Regions from separate parts of the Homo sapiens genome. Here region 1 is linked to region 2. The links are contacts of gene promoters, found by promoter capture Hi-C in blood cells and fetal thymus (Javierre and others, 2016). All regions are on one chromosome and are shown on one strand. Each heading gives the region's core, a stretch centred on a gene start or on the middle of the fragment in contact. The rest is flanking DNA. Distances are from core to core; before and after follow the strand shown.

Region 1 (3,121 bases), core at 242-2,741, 290 kb after region 2:
TATCTTGGAAGTAACTATTTTTTATTTTACAGGATCATAGCTGGAAGGGACTTATCTTGTCTCAGATAAGACTTTGGACTGTGGAGATTTCAGTTAATGCTAAAATGAGTTAAGACTCAGGGACTGTTGAGAAGGGATAATTGCATTTTGCAATGTGAGAAGGACGTAAGCTTTGGGAAGGGCCAGGGGTCAAATTTTGTGGTTTAGATTTGTGTACCCACCCAAATCTCATGTTGAATTGGTGAGAGGCCTGGTGGGAGGTGACTGAATCCAGGGGGCTGACTTCCCCCTTGCTGTTCTCATGATAGTGAGTTTTCATGAGATCTGAAAGTTTTAAAGTGTGTGGTACTTCCCCCGTCACTCTCTCTCTCCTGCTCCACCATAGGAAAATGTGCGTTGCTTCCCTTTCACCTTCCACCATGATTATAAGTTTCCTGAGGCCTCCCAGTCATGCTTCCTGTTAAGCCTGCAGAACTGAGTCAATTAAATCTTCTTTCTTCATAAATTACCCAGTCTCTGATAGTTCTTTATAGCAGTGTGAAGACAGACTAATATAATTAGAAAGTACACAGAGACCTAACTTTAGGTTCATTTCCAGAAGAGGGCCTGACCTGCTGCTCAGGGGTTAGTATTTCTTGCTTAGTCTTGTCTTTCTCATGGAGACACAGGCATACACACTTTCTCCATCTTCACATCCAGCTTCACTAATGGGTCATACTTTCCTTTCATTCCAAAATTTAAGCCAAATAAAAACTAGCCAGAACATTGGGCAATTGTTCTCCAAAAGGGAAATAAAAGAAGTCATTTATCTCAGCAGAAAGTATAACAACTCTGTTATGAGTTTATGGGTGAACCCAGGAATTGCCTTCCCTTTGGATCACCCCTTATGGCTCTAGTTCTGCCCAGAAACAGAAGGTTCAAGCCCTGGCCAACCAAAGCCAAGAGCTGCCCTCAGTCCTCATTCCTTGCTGGAAAACGGGCAGCCATATCCTTTTTCACAGAGGTGCAGAGGTCAAGTTAGTCACAGCTCAGCTCAGGATGTGGTTCTGAGGAGGCGACTGACAGGTGGCAATCGTCACTGATGCCTTGTTGCTGTTCTTCTCCAGTGACCATCGTCAGCCTCTGATTTATTCCCAGGCACCAGCAGCCAGGCTTCAGTCATCAGCCTTGCCCAGCTGAACACAGCTCCTGCTCTTGGACAGAGGAGGGTGGGTTTCAGGAGGGCAGCCACTCAGTCCCGCAGCTCGGGCCCAGGCTACCATGCTTCCTCTGGGCAGACCACTCTGTCCCTCAGTGAGCAGAGGGCTGGCATGTTAATGTCCCACTTGGAATTACTGAATTGACTCCCATCATCCTTGTATTCCTCTCTCTGTTCCTTCCCAGGACATAGCAATGCCTGAAGGGAGGAGCCTGTCCATGCCATCTGCCCCTCAGACACCAGCTCCGGCGGCGTGGATGCTGCTGCCTTCCAGGTGGCTGGGAGCCCGCTCTCACGTTTGGGGGTTAATGTCTGTGGAAAGGGAGGGTGCCCAGTTCACATGGGATTTTGCTCCCCTGACACAGAACGCAAGGATGCTGTGAGCTGAGAGTGAAGTCATTGTCCACCTCCCAGGGGCCACACTGCAGGTCCAAGTACAGAAAAGAGAGTGTCTTAAAGGAAGCCTTTGACTCTCTTTGGCTGAGTTTATGGAAAGGAAAATGAATCAAGCCCAAAATGGCCAGTAATGGCAGGGTCATTATTCCTTAAATGAAGCTCCACCTGCCTTTCCAACGAGGCAAGAACCAAATGCGTCCTTTGAAAGGAGGGCTCAGAGGTGCGGGTGCAGAACCCCATGCTCTCTTGAAGCGGTGTGGCCTGTCCCCAAACTGAGAGTCCCCATCTTCAAAACGGAGAGTTTGGTCACTTGAATTTTGTTGACATTTCTTACCTTGGGAAGCAGCTGGCTTCGTGCTGTTCGAAGTTGACCTCCTTTGCTCCAGATGGGAAGTGCCCCCAAAGCTGGCATGAACAGCTGTCACTCCCTAAGAAACTGCAGCTTTTTCTGAGGGCGGGAGCAGGTGCTCACCGATTTCCTTCTGTGGCGTGATCCTGAAGGAGCTAAGAGCCCACCACCCCAAAGGCATTGCTCTGGCTTTAAGCTGATCGCCATTCCATGTCTTAAAAGCAGGAGACGAAATTCTCATGTGAAAGATGCCCTCCCCATACGTTTGGGAAAGCATCTTTCTTATCAACAGTGGGAGGCCCAGACCCAGAGAGATTTCAGCATAGCCTCCTTAAAATCACTCTTCTTGGCAGCCTCCGCACACAATGTATTTTTCACAGCTTACTACTCCACCTCCAATTCAGGGTGCACAAAAGTTCTTTGAAAAGGAATGTAGAGGAAAGACTATTCCTATGAACAGTTTGTGAAGTGGGAGATGCTGCCTTCAGCGTAAAACCAGGATGCTTTCCAGAGAACAAAGAGAGGGTCCAGCTTTTATACTGAAAGTTCTCACATAGGTTCGCTTATGCAAATGAAAAATTCAAACTTCCTGTGTTCTGATGGGTTGGTTCAGGGGAGCTCTGGAAGTCCCAAAGTTTAACAGAGGTATGGGATTTCAAGGAACTCCGGGTACCCGTGTGACCTCTAGTCAGCAAACGGTCACTGGGCTCTATGAGGATTTAGGGCCGGTGAGCCACTAGAGATCCACCCATCCACTTCTTGCAAGTCCTGTTTGCTCACATGGGTGTGAGTGTCCAACTCTGTGGCTTTAGGGCATTCCTTCCATGGGAGGCTCTCCCACCATATAGAGCTTCCTTTAAATAAGCTTCCGTGCTTTCCTCCTGTTGATCTTTCTGCGTCAGTTAAATTCTCCGGTGCAGCCTGAGAGTCTGTACACAGGTGATCATATTCACAGGTTAATGTGCTCACAGGTGAATGTACGGGGAGGTGAATGTGTTCACAGGTGAATGTACTGGGATTAAATGTGCTCACAGGTGAATGAATGTACTGGGAGGGGAATCTGTCACAGGTGAATGTACTGGAAGGTGAAGGTGCTCACAGGTGAATGTACTGGGAGATGAAGGTACTCACAGGTGAATGTACTGGGAGGTGAAGGTACTCACAGTGAATGTACGAGT
Region 2 (3,276 bases), core at 462-2,961:
AGGCGTCGGCGGGCAAGGGGTCGGCGGGCAAGGTGTCGGCGGGCAAGGCGTCGGCGGGCAAGGCGTTGGGCGCGTCGGCGGGCAAGGCATCGGTGGGCAAGGCATCGGTGGGCAAGGCGTCGGTGGGCAAGGCGTTGGGCAAGGCATCAGCAGGAAAGGCATCGGTGGGCAAGGCATTGGCGAACAAGGCGTTGGTGGGTAAAGCGTTGGCCGGCATTTCCAGCTCTGCGTGAAGCCTGCTGCCCCCACAACCTTGCATGCTCTGGTGACTCTTAGCAGATCGAGCCGCAGCACAGGCAGCGAGGGCCCCGGGAGCCAGGGACGCCTCTGCCCTTGGGCTTTGGTGCTTTCAGAAATGCCTTCAAAGGGACTCTCATGATGAGAAGATCCAAGGCCCAATGCACCCTCTCCAGCCCCAAAGCCCCAAAGAGACCCCAGTGCCCCGAGGGTGGCAGTGACGGGTGTTTCTTTTTGTTTTTTCCATTTGTGCGCATTTCCTGCATTTTCTGCCTGTTGAGAATCTTTTCTTAAGCAGGAGGAAAAACACTTTAAAGGAGTAACCTTATAACAAGGGATAGTTGTGCGGGGCTCTCAGGGAAGGAGCTGAGGGCCCGGGGAACAGGCTGACCAAGCAGCCCGGCCTGGCCTGAGGAGGACCCTGCGGCCTGGGAAGCCCCTGCCCGTGTTGCCTGGGGAAGACCTGGGTGTCCATGCGTGATGTTGTACGTCGGCTCCCTGAGAGCAGTGATTCATGCCTGTCCCTACATCCTGTGTCGCCACATGGAGAGCAGAGTGTGACCCCTGCATGAAGAGAAGCAGGCACAGGGTGAGGGGAGGCTCGAGGTGCGTGGGAGCCTATTTCAGTCACCAATGCACTTCTGGGGGTGGTGAGTCCAAGGTCACTAAAGTCACCCAGACAGTTCTGAACATCCTGGCACCCCCCACAGGGCTCTCCCAGAGAACCAAAGCCAGGGAGGCGAGGGGTGGGCCCCCAAATTCCTGCAAAGAACCTCGGAGAAGGGCACCTGAGCACATGTCTGGACACACCAAGGCTGTGGTGAGGAAACCCAGAGCGGATTGTGTGTTCTTTAAAGAACTGACGACATTCAGATGGAAGAGCGCTCACTGTTTGTAGGGTGTGTGTGTCGGGCAGGGCGGCCCATTCAACCTGACGCCTGGCAGGAAGCTGCCCTGAGGTCCCGGAAGACCATAGTGGACCCCGAGGGGACTGGATCCTCCGTGCTGTGGGCAGTGGTGAAGCTGCCCTGAGGTCCCAGAAGACTGCAGGTGGGCCCTGAGGGGACTGACTCTGCCGTGGGCAATGGTGCACCCTGGTTTCCAGGAGGAGTGACTCTGCCCAAGCACTGGGGATGCGTGGCAGGCGCCTGGCAGGTCAGGGTGGAGACGGCCTCCCCTGCTTAGGGGTCTGCCCCAGGACGCAGGTGGGTGCTTACCTCCTCCATAGGTCTGGCACAGGTATGGGAACCGCCAAATGTTCCCCAGTCCCACGGCAAACCCAGTGCAGCTCAGGAGGTACTGGGCCTTGTTGTCCCACTTGGGCCTCTCATCCCCGAGGTCGCAGGCGGCCGGGTCCGGTTCTGGGGCATGAGCCATGGTGACTGAGTGCCCCAGGCTTCAGGGCAAGGGTGGTGCCTCACTCCACACCCAGCACTAGAGAGCCGTCTCCAGCCTCTGCCGACGTTTGGAAACCACAAGCAGCCCCACTGCAGTTGTATTTATTCATTTCTTTAAAGGAAAACCAGTGGAGTGCCGTTAATGGGTAACTCAGGTCCAGGCCCTGGCTCTGACGCCAGGGTCCTTCCCTGGCACCCACGTCCTCTGCTCCTTCTCGCATGCTCTGTGTTCCAGGCAAACGCCGGGCCTGGCACCACCCCCAGCACCATGAGGACCGTTTGCAAGGACAGCCTCAAGTTTTTTTGTTGCAGACACCAGGATTCCCAAGACTGAGGCATATTTTAATCGTTTTAAATTTCTTATGTTTTATTTAACCATTTGATCTTGAGATACTTATAGATTGTCACTCTGTCACTGTCAGAAACAACTCAGATCAGATCGCATGCACCCGAAGCCCGGATTCCCGCAGGGATCCTCTCAGCTGCTCTTGGGAGGCCGGGGGCTGCCCTCACACCCACTGCTGCCCTCGGGCCGCTGGGCAGGACAGGGTGACAGGCACCCACCGTGCGTGGGGGCAGAGGGCTGAGTCCTCTCCTGTGCTGGGGGCACCCCTGTCCATGGGTGGAGGGTTGATGAGTTGACGCCGGGTGAGTTCAGCTCTAAGGAGCTCCCCACAGTGCTCCCTGGACTCTGGGGCTCCTCCTTGCAGATGCTCCCGCCACGGACAGGCCAAGGGCCCCCAGGCCCGCAATTGCCCCATTCCACTGGACACTGCACCCCTCAACCGTGTGGCCACAACTCCAAATCCATGAGTCCCAGGGCAGGGGCCCAGGTGGACACATTTTTGGAAGGTTCTTATTTGAGTGAGAGGAAGTGTGAGGGAAGAAGATGAGAAGAGCTGGTTGGTCCCCATTGTGAGGCCACAGGCCTGGGCCATGGCCTCTTCGGAGCAAGCCCCCAAAGCCAGACCCCCCAGGAGGAGGCAGGAGCTGGACCTGCCGTCCCCACCATCCCGTCTGAGGTCACTGGCTCACTCATCCCTCTACGTCTGGACAACAGTAACTTCTAGGGTGAGCATACTCAATAGAAGGGATTTATTTAGAAATGTACACTTTATGCCCATAAAGCCTGCATTTCTACCACATTTACAGAGACATTGAAACCTATGAAACAACGCATGAATCAGGAGATGTAGATGAGATGGGAGCTCCCGCCCAGGGTCCTATGGCAGGCACACCAGGGTACACCAATGGATGCCAGGGCACATCAGTGCACACCTGTGCATGCCAGGGTACACCAATGCACACCTGTGCACGCCTGGCAGGGCCTCCTGGGCAGATGCCACAGGGCAGCATATTAATGGGGCACTGATGGAAATTTTCTCGATCCAGGGCCAAAGAGCAGGAAAAGATGAGGTGAGACCCTGTTGAAGCCATCAGCAGGCGAGCCCCTCGGTGGCATCACAGCCGGGGGCAGAGGCTGTGATATGTCCCCCCACCTCTGCTGCTGTGGAGTCTTGCGCATCCCAGGGCCCAGTGACAGTCAGCAGGGTGAAAGGGGCTGGTAGGGGACTCAGTGTGTGCAGTCACTGCTGGATGGGGTGCTGGAAGGGACGATTGTGACCAGGTTTCTGTGGGTGGA

The links. Contacts are between HindIII fragments. The CHiCAGO score rates a contact against its expected background, and 5 or more counts as called.
Region 1: a contact is called between a fragment that was not itself captured here and the fragment with the promoter of SLC6A18 in region 2, in 4 of 17 cell types (erythroblasts, fetal thymus, M2 macrophages and 1 more). The highest score is 8.0, in erythroblasts.

What each region holds. Positions count from the first base shown.
Region 1 is chr5:930,739-933,859 of GRCh38, reverse strand. No RefSeq gene overlaps it. Among named protein-coding and RNA genes, the nearest start is that of TRIP13, 39 kb to the right of the region's middle. The HindIII fragment of the contact is 2,638 bases long and covers 173-2,810 here.
Region 2 is chr5:1,223,816-1,227,091 of GRCh38, reverse strand. SLC6A18 (solute carrier family 6 member 18) reads right to left here and starts at 1,711. Exons shown (of 12, transcript NM_182632.3): 1 at 1,455-1,711. The coding sequence starts at 1,614. SLC6A19 (solute carrier family 6 member 19) reads right to left here. Exons shown (of 12, transcript NM_001003841.3): 12 at 1,981-3,276. RefSeq lists an enhancer at 775-1,317. The HindIII fragment of the contact is 4,471 bases long and covers 1-3,276 here.